2 separate regions of the Homo sapiens genome follow, and region 2 is linked to region 1. The links are contacts of gene promoters, found by promoter capture Hi-C in human tissues and cell types (Jung and others, 2019). All regions are on one chromosome and are shown on one strand. Each heading gives the region's core, a stretch centred on a gene start or on the middle of the fragment in contact. The rest is flanking DNA. Distances are from core to core; before and after follow the strand shown.

What was found. The method cuts DNA at HindIII sites, captures the fragments that hold promoters and counts their contacts. A contact is called where the count stands out against the background at its distance.
Region 2: a fragment that was not itself captured here is called in contact with the fragment with the promoter of SERP2 in region 1 in 2 of the 25 tissues and cell types used here (aorta and dorsolateral prefrontal cortex).

What each region holds. Positions count from the first base shown.
Region 1 is chr13:44,369,457-44,376,458 of GRCh38, forward strand. It overlaps SERP2 (stress associated endoplasmic reticulum protein family member 2), which reads left to right and starts at 4,368. Exons shown (of 3, transcript NM_001010897.3): 1 at 4,368-4,653. The coding sequence starts at 4,570. It overlaps LOC105370297 (a long non-coding RNA gene), which reads right to left and starts at 4,110. Exons shown (of 2, transcript XR_001749858.3): 1 at 3,941-4,110; 2 at 1-3,741. The HindIII fragment of the contact is 4,304 bases long and covers 3,292-7,002 here.
Region 2 is chr13:43,474,966-43,481,967 of GRCh38, forward strand. The region is part of intron 3 of ENOX1 (ecto-NOX disulfide-thiol exchanger 1); the gene reads right to left. Among named protein-coding and RNA genes, the nearest start is that of ENOX1-AS2, 30 kb to the left of the region's middle. The HindIII fragment of the contact is 4,962 bases long and covers 1,410-6,371 here.

The DNA of each region.
Region 1 (7,002 bases), core at 3,118-5,617:
TCTAGAAACTCGACCACCAAGATGAATTTTAACGTGTCTCTGTCTTTGCACCACTTGATCAAGATTCACAGTTCCCAAAAGGAGAATCTCATTGGCCAGATCACACGCCACCCTAGCTGTGAGGGGTTGGGAGACCAAGTATGTGGCCCCCTTATGCTCCACGGTGGGAAAGAAGGTCCTAAGACTCTCACAGTGATGGAGTGCCCCAAATATAAAGAATGTTTGCATGCTGGTCAGCCACAGAAAAATGAGAGATGTCCAATGCATCACAGTTTAGTAGTGTAGCATCATTTATAAAGATGGGTAAAACTCAGTCTGTACAGCCACACATCCAGTGCCCTAAGTGGGGCAGATTTATGATTAATGGGCATAGGCTTGTTAGGATTTCTTGCTCTAAAGGCTGAAAATTGGCTGGGCATGGTGGCTCACACCTGTAATCCCTGCATTTTGGGAGGCTGAGGTGGGCAGATCACTTGAGGACAGGAATTCAAGACCACCCTGGCCAATATGGTGAAACCCCGTCTCTGCTAAAAATATAAAAAGCCAGGCGTGGTGGTGCATGCCTGTAATCCCAGCTACTCAGGAGGCTAAGGCAGGAGGATCACTTGAACCCGGGAGGCAGAGGTTGCAGTGAGCCAAGATTGCGCCACTGCACCCCTACCTGGGCGACAGAGTGAGACTCTGTCTCAAAAATAAAAATAAAGGCTGAAAATTTTACCAGCCAAAATTAAATTTTAACCAGTTAGCAGTTTCCTGGCACTTTGCCCATAACAATTTTAAAAGTTGTGGTTGAGCACTGCATGCTAGTGGTATATTACAAAACTCCATGCTGCCACCATAGATGAACCCAGGAGAAGTTCTCCTTAATCAAGTTTCCATTTTCCCCTCCTAAGTCCTCGAAAGAGCAAGACGACTCCATGCTTTGCTCCTTCGTAGTCTAGTAGTGACTCTGGAACTCCAGGAACACAGCTTATAGACTTTAGCCCCAGCTCCCCACATAAGGGTCTGGAGGCTGAGTATAAGAAGGGCCAGGATCCATGCTGGGAAACTGCTTGGTCCATGATGGTGATCCTCAAGGCAATAAACAGGACTGAGACCTGCAGAGGAGCTGGCCTGACTGCAGAGGACAAAAGCAGGGGTGTGAGCAGGTAAAGTGGAGGTCACAGCACGAGGTTTCTTCATCCAACCAAGGACATAAAAAGTTGCAGCAATTTCACTTCCAGGAATCTAATTCCAGTGTTGTGATATAGGAGAAACCAAAGTGTTGTCTCCCACTCTCACACAGCCAGCACACTTTTAACACTAGATGTGTGGGGGATGTTTCCCCTCATACCAAGCAATTCTGCAACAGACACCGGCTGGGTGTCCTTTAATTCAATTCAATTCTGGCACTATGTACCTGGAAATAGCAGGGGCTCAGGGTTTGATCCTATGAGACCGCCCCCCATTTCAGATGCCAATCCCAGGTAGTAGGTTGTCTCCTGTACCTCTGCCTGCCCAGCTATAAACTGGAGTTCCCCCAACCCACTCCTTGTTTGGACTAATCTGCTAGAGTGGATCACAGAACTCAGTGAAACACTTTACTTCTGTTTGCTCATTTATGAGGAAGGATATTACAAAGCATATAGATGAACAGTGAGATGGAAGAGATGCACAGGGCAAGAAATGTGGGAAGGGCTGTGGCGCTTCCATATCCTCTCTGAGCACGCCACCCTCTAGGAACCTGATGTTCTGCTCTCCAGAACTCAACAAACCCTATCCTTTGGGCTTTTATACAGGCTTCATTGCATATGTCTGATTGATTACATCATTGGTCACTGGTGATCAACTTAACTTTCAGCCCCTCTCCTCTCTGTGGAGGTCTGGGGGGACAGGGTGGGACTAAAAGTCCCAACCCTCTAATCCTGCCTTGATCTTTCTGGTGACCAGTCCCCATCCTGAAGCTATCTAGGGTCTCCAAGTCACCAACCATCTCATTAGCATACAAAAGGTAAGATATTTTCATCACTCTGGAGAGTCCAAGGAATTTAAGAGTTTTAGGTCAGGAAACAGGGACTACAATCAAATATATATTTCACAATATCACACGCAGATATACCTGCACAAGTACACACTGATCTATGTACAGGGATATTCACTGAAGCATTGTTGGCAACCACAAAAAAAGAAAAACTGGAAATAATCATCCATGGTTACATCAGTTCAATATATTACTGTATAATCATACTATGAGACATAACACAACTACAAGAAAGAGGTCATATATAAGTGATATGATAATGTTGATATATTAAGTTAGAAGAGCACGTGGCAGAACAGTTTGCATACTACTATTCCGTTTTTTTTTAGAAGGGAATATACAAATAGTCTTGTATATACTGGAAGGGCAACCCAGGAACCGTGGGAACTTTTTGGGGAGGGTGGCAAGGAAAGAGAGACCTTTACTTTTCATTTTCTATCCTATTTCTGTTTGACTATTTACTGTGTAGATGTAGTCTACTCATAATTAAAACAAACTAATTTAAAATGCCGGAAAAGTGAAGCATAGCAGGAAAAAGGAGTCAACAGTAAAGAAAAATTTTCCCCAAAAGGGGCTTCTCTCAGTTAAGAACACTTCTGAACTGTACTCACTGAATGTGAAGACCCAAAGAGAAAACAGTCTCTGTCTGTGTCTTTTCCTTAATGTCGCTCAGAGCCAGACCTCTACTCACCTGGTGAGGACCTGGGTCAGTCTCCTGGTATTTGGACATGATCTGAGAGGAGTGAGTCAGGTAAAGGAACCTTCTGGACCACAGACAACAGCCAGGCTCAGCAGGGATCACTGAGGTAGGAATCCCCCCACCCAAACCCCTAAAAAAGAGCCAACAGTTATTAAAAACATGGGACTAGAGTGGGGCAGACTGGGTTTATGGTCCTGTTACAACAGTGGTGATGCTAACAGTTAAAAGACCATAGAAGCTTGTTTCAAATTAATTGGCCTGTAGAGTAGGAAAAAAAAAAAATGACTCTACTAATGATCCTAGGCAATTCTGTCTTCTAGGTTACAGCAAGCAGCCCCCAGAATGGCCTTTATTGAAGCCTGAGTGACAAGAAGCCTGTAGCGGGGTGAGGGGGACCCGCTTGGAAAAAGGCCCCAAAAGAGGAGCTCTTCCTAACTCTCCAATGACATGGGAAAATTTTACTCACACAAAATTCCCTGGAAACCCAGCCACCTCCCGCTCCAAGAGAAGGCCTAGAGATGCAGTGGCCAGAGACAGCCTCAGGCCTTCTTCCCCATGCTGGGGGTGCTGCTGCTTGCCTTCACCCCGACCCGGTATCCCCACTTCCCGCTGCCCCAGATCTCCCAGGCTGAATGTCCCCTCTTCGCCTCCACTCTTCTGAGCTTCTAAGAGCTAACTCCAAGTGAGGAACTGAACCCCTTCCACCCCTACCTCCCCAGGCAATCTGTAGAGCTCTTGAGCCCTAATACCAGTGTCTGGGAGGCGCGTAAACGCTTCCATTTTTATCCTTCCACTGCAGAAAATGCCCAGTTTAGTCTGGGAGACACTCAGACCCCTCGGGACAAGGGTGGCTAGAGAGAGGTCCAAGCTGCCCTGGGTGGGTGGGGAGTCAAGGCAGGCCAAAGCTTCAGATTTAGACAGTAACCACCAAATCCGACCTGGGCTGCAGGTCCAAGGCCTCTTCCTCTTTCCTGCATGCTCCGCTCTGCCGCTGGCCCATCTTCCAATGCAACCCCTACAACTACCAAAGCAAAAAGGCCTGTCCCAACTCCATCCTCACGGCCCGATCCCCAACCCTCAGGGGATGCCGCTTCGTGTCTCCTCTTTATTTTACAACGCGGCCCTCCTTGCAGCCCTCACGAAAAGTTCTGCAGTGGGGTCCCCCAGCGTGGGGCCCTTCTCGAGACCCTTAAAGAGAAGGCTCGTTTGGTGGACCATACCCGGGCAGCGCGGGCCCGGGCCTGGACTGGTTCTACTTGTGTTCTGAGGTCCCTGACCACCGCCTTGGGTCCAGCCCTCGTCCAGGGGGCGGCGGTGCAGGGGAGACCGCGCGGCCCGGCCTGAAGCGCGGCCGCCCTCATCCCTTCCCCGGGGCTGGGGTGGGTCACCGGCCGACAAACACAGGAGGGGCCGCGTCCCCGTCCCCGACGCGCTCACAAACGCCGTGGTCGCCCGAACCTTCGGCCCCGCAGCATTCGGCTACAGGACCGCGACACTGCAGGGCCCCGGCTCTGCGCGCTGCGCTCCGGCCGCTCGGCGCGGGAGGACGTGCGGTCGCGCCTGCCTCGGTGGCCGCGCGGGGTAGGTGGCTGCGGGGACCGGAAGGATGGCGAGGAAGTCGGAAAGGGTTTCCTGAGATGAGAGATTACTTCCGTCCGGGCTGCGGCCTCTCTCTGGAGTCGGCTAGCCGGGGCTCGGGGAGCGGGGTGCGCAGGGCTCGGGGCCACGCCTTGCCACCTGCAGCGCCCGGGTGGGCCGCGGGGGCCTCGGCGGGACGCGCTCGGCCCTGTCGCAGGAGCTAACGCAGGGGGAATCCTTGCAGGTGGGAGCATTTCAGAGCGCACAAGCCATGGTGGCCAAACAGCGGATCCGGATGGCTAACGAGAAGCACAGCAAAAACATCACCCAGAGGGGGAACGTAGCCAAAACCCTGGTAAGGCGGGGTCGGCGCCGGCCAGGCAGAGCCCTGCAGCCCGGCGGGGTGGGGCGGAAGGTGGGGGCGGGGCCGGGCGGGTAGCGGCGCAGGGTCCGGCCTCCCGGCTCCCGGCCCGCCCCTTCTGCGGGGTCCTGCAGAGTGGGGGCTGAGAGCTGGGTTCAGGGCGGCGCGGTCTGCTTGGCGTCCTCGTGGGCGGAGAGGGCCCTGGTTGGTCGTGGCCCCTCTGGGAGTGGCTACCTGGGCTACCAGGGAGGCGCAGAGGAGCCCTCCTCCCCGACCCGCACCCCCTGTCCCCCTGCCCGGGAGACAGCTGGGCCTTGTCCCGGAGAAAGACGGAAAGCCTCATCCTTAGGGGCCAGTTAAGTCAACTGCATGACACAGAGCCTGGAACCTAGTATGTTCTAGAACGTTGCATGACACAGAGCCTGGAACCTAGTATGTTCTAGAACGTTTGTTGAATGAATGAATGAATCAATGGCTAAATGGAGGCCACTTGTCATCTCCTCCCGGACTCCACCTGTCTTCCCTCCCCAACAGACTTGCACCAGGATCAAGTTTTCTTTCCAGCCCCTTTGTGACGGTTTCACTGGAGGTGTGGAAAGAGCTCAAAATGGGGAGTGAGATTTGGACCCACATTCCCTCCAGCCTCTTTTTTCTCTTTTACCTCTCTTCCAGCGAGACCTCCCTCAGCCCCTAGGCTAAAGTCTAAGGGCAGCATTCCTATTCTTTCCACTTGGTGAATTCAGACTCATTCTCATGGTATAACTTTAGAGACCAGTTTATTGTCAGGCATTCGGTGTCCCTAGAACTGTAAATTCAAGCTTTGCAACTGGACTTTTAAGTAAAACCTGTGCCTTACACTCAGGAGTTTCTTTTAGCAAAGCAGATTATCATCAACAGAAAATGCGAGGCCTGTGACTTTGGACATTCAGAGGCATGAGTCGCATGGGTAGTTTGGCGAAGTTGGTCTCCAAGTATATGAGCAAAGGCGCCTGGGATCTGTTACCCCGTACAGTTAAGTGGAAATCCAGCTGAAGCCTGGAGTTTGGCTGGGAAAGCTTGCAGATTTGATGAATCAATTCCTTTTAGCCAAAGAAACTATATTGGTTTGATTAACTAAGCAAAAAGCTAGATCTGTAATCATCACACCAGAATTCTTGCAAAACCAAGCAGTATTACGGCAGAGAAACTCTAGGACCAAACTCAACTCTACTCAGAGCTTTATACACAAGTCTAAGCATAACTCAACTCTACTCAGAGCTTTATACACAAGACCTAAGTAATCCTTAAAATTCTCTCATTTAGGAATTATATCACTCAGTTGTGATTAGGCAGCAAAATGCCAAGATGCCATCAAATTGGAACCATTTTGTCACATTGATTTATGTTTTCCCTATTTTTACTGAGGAAAAAAAAATGGCTGCCCGGGTTGACATTGAGAAGCAACTTATAATTGATGTTAAGGCATGCAGGGTTTTATATCCCTAAGAGATCAATTCTTCCTTCTCAAGGGATCAGACCTGCTAACTGACACAGTGAAAAATAACTAGTCATGTGGCTCTTTTTCATGAACTAAAAAACCGGAGTTCAGTTGTCAGATCTCAGTTGACAGCTTATCTGATTACAAAAGTAAGAAGAAAACAAGAACTAATTTCTAAGGCTGTTGTATCTATTAGGTTCTGTAGACTCAGTGTCTGCCACCTCAAGTTCTTCAAGAAAACTAGAAAATGTTTGGGACCCAAAACAAAAATTATTAGCTCCAAAATAAAAGAAGAAAATGGAAAAATTGGGAAAACATTGTTTAAATACCTAGAAAAGGTACCAGTCACCTGCCATTCAACTCAATGTTCAGAGCTACATTTAAATTATATTTAATGTACAGTATGAGTTCATTTTAATATGCTCTGATATGTCATGGGGTGGCCCCCAAGAAACTCTCATAGTGCCTTGCACCTATAAGAGTTTTTAAATGGCCCAGCTAAATTTGTAATGAAAGGTTTCCAGACCAAGCCACAATCAATGTTTGCTTTGCATTGGTTGGGGGGATTTTGGTTAATGTTATTGTAAATAGATTACTATCCAATAGAAAAATGAAATTTTCTTTCAAAGAGAAACTTGATAAATCCTAAATCTCATGTTCTCAATTACAAGTCAAATATGATTATACTTTGTTAAAAGTAACTTGCAAAAGATCACTATTCAGGATGAAATTCATTAAATGGGAACAAGTATAGATTCCAACTGAAAATTCAGACTAATTGTTCAGAAATAAACTTCTTTAATTGTATGCAGATGCTTCAGTATTTTATTATTAGCTAATAGCTTACGGATAAATTAATATTATTC
Region 2 (7,002 bases), core at 2,641-5,140, 890 kb before region 1:
GGTTTGCTGGTGATTTGAGATGAATCCTCATGCAACAACTTGAAGGCAGACAGATTGGAAGAGCAGTGAGTTGATTTTCTAAAGTAAAATCCACCAGAAAGAGTTTACACGGTGTTGGAATTCTACCACATTTACAAATTAATGTGCCAGATGCCATCAGCAGATCTATCATTATGATGGCTATTGATAAATATCAAAATTTGACCATTAAGAAAATAGTACTACTAATCTCATACTGGGGATATCAGTACCACTACAGAAAAATTCTACTTAAAAACATATGTGAGCTAAAAGTGAAAAGCATTTCCCTGCTGATTCCACATGTCCACAACAGCCTAAGCAGTGTGGAGATGGCCAGCGGAGCAGCAATAGGGAACGTGTGCCAACATTTCTGATAGGAACTCTATTTTCTGAGGATTTAGGCTCAATTATGAAAGTCTGCTGAAAATGAAACTTGGCATAAATACTGTAGCTTAGTAGAATTCCATCAAATACAACAAAAATGAAGATTAAGGAGAGGGAAATCCTATAAACTCAACTTTCAGAAAAGACCAGAGCATTGCTAAGGAAAATCAAAGGAAGTTCTCAATACTTATTAATTAATCTTTTCATAAACGAAATCATATTTGAGAAGTGGTGAGATCATTTACAGCCTAATAATTTCCAGATATGGAAGGGAATAAATAATTTAAAGGGGTAATGATTGAACCTAGGAAGGGCTGTGTCAGTTCTAGAAATAGTGGCTTTTACTCTTGAATTTTTAAAAGTTCCATTTTCTTAGTGGTGGCATTGGCCCAGGCCACAATCATATACAAAAACATAACTGACCAAAAAAAAAAAAAAAAAAAAAGAAAGGCTTTAATCTCTTAGAATAGCAAAACAGAATTTGAGAAGAGCCTAAACTCTAAGATATACAGCTCTTAAAATTTTACCATAAAGGACACTTTTTTAGAGCCCTAAATAAGGTGGGAACCTTAAACACAGACCTTAATTTTAATAACTCTTGGGAATGGATGGTCTCAGTTAACTCTAATCTTATATTTGTTTATAGACCTCAGTTTTCAATTACAGGAGGTCTAAGCATTGAAGTGTTAGAGTGTTTCAATAGATGAAAGATGATTAATAGAAACTTTAATATCTCTCCAAGTCAAATGACCATGTAACCTCTACAAATATTACTGTAATCGCTACAAATATTTGTTACTTTGTTTATTCATTCAGTAATTCAAAAAAAGATTTATTGAGCACATGCTAGGTATAACGCTCCATAAAACAAGCCTAAAATCTACCAAAAATACAAATATGTATTCACTTGAGAATTTCTGATAGCTCTCATTTAGTGAAGGTACCAGACACTAAACAACATTTAACTTGAGATACATCTGGAACCTTTAACAACATACTAAACTTTAAAAAAAAGTGCATATTTTTCTAATGTGGTTCTGAAACAAAGAGACAAAAAGAAATTTTTTATTTGTCTAATGGAAGAGAAAAGGCCTCAAAAACTAGCTGACCTCCCAGATAATGAAGTGTAAAAGAATGTGCAAATGTACTTCAAAAAGTAACTCTCCTGGACACCAACTGAACCCTTAGAAGCTAAAGGCGGGAAATAACCCCTTCTTCCTTCTTTTACTCTCTCTAGTTTGTCTTTGTTCTGTTTCCCTTGTCATTTCCCACTCTTCAGACACAATTATAGTTGATTGAGATATAACGAGTAAAGCTACATTAGAAACTACTCATGGAAAAATCAATAGAAAAGGATAGAGGCACATTCAACAGAAACAACAAAACAGAAGCACTGTTAGGAAGAAGGAAGTGAGAGGTTTTTGTAGCAGAATGTACGGAACAGATATTTCCCAAGTGCCTCTTCTATGGTAGGTGGGACATAGCAGCATCATACAGTCACCTCATATATCCACTGTAAAAGAGGAGATGGGTGGGTGCAGGCAGGTAATTGTCCAGAAAAAGCAACAGACTGGTTCTATTATGAGAAAGTGAACATACTTCATTTGTGGAAAACTATACAACAATTAACCACTATGAATGAAACAGATCTCCATATATTAAGAGAGAGATTCTAAAAAAATAAAAAAAAAATTGAGAAAAAACAAGTTCCAAAGGTATATATTCAGTATGATCCCATCTATGTAAACTTAAAAAATATTGCACATATATATGTGTGTATACATATATATACACATACATATATATATATAGTATACACACATATATATAGAGAGATTAATTATAACTATATATGTGATAAATGGTATAATATACAACAACCTTATTATCATGATAGTACCTCTGGGAAAGGAGAAGTAGATATCTGAAGAACATTTTAAAATTTTTAAATATGGGGGTGAATACATACGCTTTGCTCTTTTCTGTAGGTTTAAGCTACTTGACAATAAAAATTAACATTTTTTTGAAATTTGTTGTCTAAAAAAAGAAAGCTGTAGAAATTGAGACAATTAGAAGGAGCTGTTCTAGTAAGTCTAACTTTCTTATTTCTGAGCTGAGCTGAGAATATACAAGGCTGATTATTTTCCATCTTCAGAAAGAGAAACAATGGAGACTTACTGTAGAAGAAAAGACTATCCTTGCAATGAGAAGTCAGTGGCACTTTTGGCAAATGAATGGTCATTTTCAGGTGGAAGTGAATTATCTGAATGTAGTTATATTGAGTCCTCCAGCTTTAAAAGAATGTTTCAACTCATACACTATTTATTTGAGTTACTCTTTTTTTTCTTTATGGGGTGTGAATATGAGGTTTAAGGGACACAGTTAATAGATGCCAAGTTTTCATTGTTTCTACAAATGTTTATAGAGTCTGGATTTTGGAATAACAATTTGCACACTTACAAGTGTTGATTAGCTGGGCAACATTGCAATTAATATTACTTTTTTAAGCTCCTCGCAAAGACTTCCTTTTCTTTCAAAATTGCCAATAAACATTTTCAAACATAATCCCCAAGGAGCTCATTCACTGGGTGCTGGGGGACTCCAGCAGGAAGGAAACCTACTAACATTTTATTAATTTTGGATCATGTGTAATTCTTAGGATTAATGGCAAGGAGCCAGAGAGGTTTTTTTTTTTTTTTTTTTTTTTTTTCATTTTTTAAATCACAGTGGAAAATAAGCCTGAAACATTTCACTAGTAAGGCAAGAGTCACTTAAGATATATTATTAAATATGAGGGGTAGAAATAAATCACAGACACAAGTGGTATTATACAGTGGGCATTTTTCTGAAAAAACAGACTCCGTGCATGAGGATTAGATATACGCCCACAATAAGAGGGCATATTGATCTATAATTTTCAGTATTACATCCTTGTATTTTTTATTATATGCTATTTTTCAACTAGTAGAGGAACGTGTTCTCATAAAGCTAATATTTATTCTTCCATGTTTATACAGCTAGTAGTGCATTTCAGGAAATGAGAAATTCTGAGAAGCCAAATATAACTTGATGTCGTATGCAAAAAAGAAGACAAGACAGAAAAATCCCCATATTTTAAAAACCTGACTCAGGAACTCACTCATAAAGCTTTAAATAATTAAATAACACAACATAATGAAAGTCTTTTGATATTATTTTTTCTATTCCCATAAATGTAGCCTTTTCATAGATGATACATCTTATCATGTAGTATTCCTCATTTTACTAGAAATCAAAGAAAAGGACCCTTTAGTCCAGTTCTCATTTTCAACACTGTACTCACTGTGTGTATTTTGTGGAAGCTGAGGCAGATACTCACTGTAATCCCACTATAAAAATTGAGATACCCCTACTGGAAACTGTATTGTTAATTCATGAATTCTTCTCATTTTATTATTAAGTAACCTGTGTACTGGGGAATTCAATGATTTCTTAAACCCAAAGAAAATAGTAGTGAATGATAATTTGGTTTTTCATGGAGAGGCTGTATTCATATTATATTACGGTAAAAGCCTCAAGAGGTCAGAGCCATTTCGGGGGAGAAATTCCCCAAGCCTTTGGAGGAGAAACTCCCCAAAGGTCAATTGTTTCTATGTCCTCTCCTTTTAGTTTATAACTTTACTTGAGCCCTTGGAGAAATCAGGAGAAACAGAAGTTGTCAAGTCATTTCCCCATACTCCGCATGCATAAAGATGGAACTGGGTGTTGGCAACAGTAAGTAAGTGAGGCAGAAGGCAGAAGTGTTGAGGGGGATGGCAGGAGGTGAGGCCAAGGATGTTGGGACTAAAGGGAGAGAGCAGTTAGGCTGTAATCAAGGGTTCTTTGAGCTCCCCACAAACCGATCCTTGATTTTCTGAGGAAGCTTGTGGCCTAGAGCAGACAGCTGAAACTATGGTGCTTGGTGAAAAGCAAGTGAAAAAAACAACTACTACTTTATTACTTACCTTTTCCCAGTCATCTTGCAGATTTCAGATTTTCTACCCTTTCCGTTCTCAGTAACTGACCGGCCACCTTTGTGGCATCAGCCCCACCACTTCTCCTGAGGTCCAAGCCTGTCTCCATCTCCATATCCAACAGCTGTCCTCTCTCTGCCATTTTCCTGTACTGAGTTCTAATATTATCTTTCCCTCATCCATGTTCCTATATCAAGAAAAATGATCTCCTTTAAACACCAAACCAGAATTTCTCGTTCTTCGAAAGAGTCTATCCATCCATTTATGTATGTTAGTGTATTTCTAGGCAGCTAAAAAATAAATGTAATCTCAGAGTAGAAGTGCAATAGAATGGAAAGAGAATGGTACCCGGAGTTAGAAAAAGGGGGCTACACCCAGCTCCATCTTTCTGCCCATTTGGGCACTGTCAGCTCTAAGTGAAGTTTCTGTAGTCTGGGCAGTTGCAGACCTCCACTGCTGGACAAGGGAAAGAAGGTTTGAGTCTGGTTATTACAATAACTGGGGTTGGGGGAGATGTTGGCTTTTGGTTCCTGAGAACCGTGGTTACTAAACATTCTTTTATTTATTTTTATTTTTATTTTTTTTTTTTTGAGACAGAGCTGTTCTCTTGCTGCCCAGGCTGGAGTGCAATGGCGTGATCTTGGCTCACTGCAACCTCCACCTCCCGGGTTCAAGCCATTTTCCTGCCATAGCCTCCTGAAGTAGCTGGGATTACAGGCACCCACGACCATGCCCAGCTAATTTTTTTGTATTTTTAGTTGAGATGGGATTTCACCATGTTGGCCAGGCTGGCCTTGAACTCCTGACCTCAGGTGATCCACCCGCCTCGGCCTCCCAAAGTGCTTCAATTCTAGGCATGAGCCACTGCACCTGGCTGGTTACTAAACATTCTAAACATGCATGGGACAACCTTGCATCACAAAGAACTGTCCCACTTAAAATGCCAATACTGCCCTGATGAAGAAACATCAATAGATGATTTTCAATGTTCCTTCAACCTATTTGGCCTCTAAAACTTAAGTGAAATGTAGGGAACTTAAGAGACTCAGGAAAGAACTGTGAGGATAATTAAAATTTTGGATTATGCAGATTTATAGGAAAAGTTTTAAAAATGGGCTTATCTCTCCCAAAGAGAAAAAGGATGATTTAAAAACTGAGACTAGGATGATACAGGGGAAGTCTGACCAATAAATTTTCTTTTTCAATGGAAGCAGAAATAAATTAACATGATATGAGCTCAGAAATTACATTGGCTTTCTTGAGAAAGACTTGAAATCATAAATGAAAGAGGAGACATTACAACTGATATCACTGATATCACAGAAATAAAAAGGATTATGAGAGACTACAAGGAACAATGATATGCCAACCAGTTAGATAACCTAGATGAAACAGATACATTTCTAGAAACACACAACCTACCAAGACTAAATAGAGAAAAAATAGAAAGCCTAAACAGACCCATAACTAGTAAGGAGATTGAGTCAGTAGTTAGCAATCTTCCAACAAAGAAAAGTCCTATATCAGATAGCTTCACCAGATCATTCTACCAAACATTTAAAGAACTAATGCTAATCCTTCTCAAACTCTTCTAAAAAATTGAAAAGGATGGAACATTTCCTAACTCATTTTATAAAGCCAGCATAAGCCTGATACCAAAGTCAACCATGCCACAAGAAAACTACAGGCCAATATCCCTGATGAATGTAAGTGCAAAAATTCTCAACAAAATACTAGCAACTTTTTGCTAGCAACAAATACTAGCAAACCAAATTCAACAGCAGTATGCAGTATGCTGTTGAATTTGGAAGCCTCATACTTCCCGATGTCGAAATGTAACAACAAACTCTCTATATATTATATACAGAGTTTCAGTCATGCAAGATGAAAAAATTGTAATATATAAAGCTACAATAGTCAGAATGGCATGGTACTGACATAAAGGCAGATATATGGACCAATGGAAGAGGATAGAGAGTCCAGAAATAAACCCATATATATATGGGATCAAATTATATTCAACAAGGGTTCCAAGACTCCACAAAAGTGTAAGAACTTATTCTTCAATAAATTGTGCTGGGAAAACTGTATATCCACATGCCACAGAATAAAACTGGATCCTTATTTTATACCAGACACCAAAACCAACCCAAAATGAATTAAAGAATTAAATATAAGATTTGAAACTACACAACTAGTAGAAGAAAACCCAGGGAAAAAGCTCCATATTTGGTCTTGGCTGTGATTTCTTAGATATCACAAGAAAAGAACAGGTAACAAAACAAACACAGACAAGTAGAATTATATCAAATTAAAAGGCTTCCATGCAGCAAAGGAAGCAATCAATAGAGTGAAAAGGCAACTTACAGAATGGGAAAAAATTTGCAAACCATATATCTGATAAGGGGTTAATATATTAAATATGTAATAAACTCCTACAACTCAACTGCAAAATATCCAAATAATATAATTTAAAAATGGGCAAAGGACTTGAATAGACATTTCTCCCAAGAAGACATACAAATGGTCAACAGATACATGAAAGATATTCAAAATCACTAATTATCAGGGAAATACAAATCAAAACCACAACGAAGTATCACCT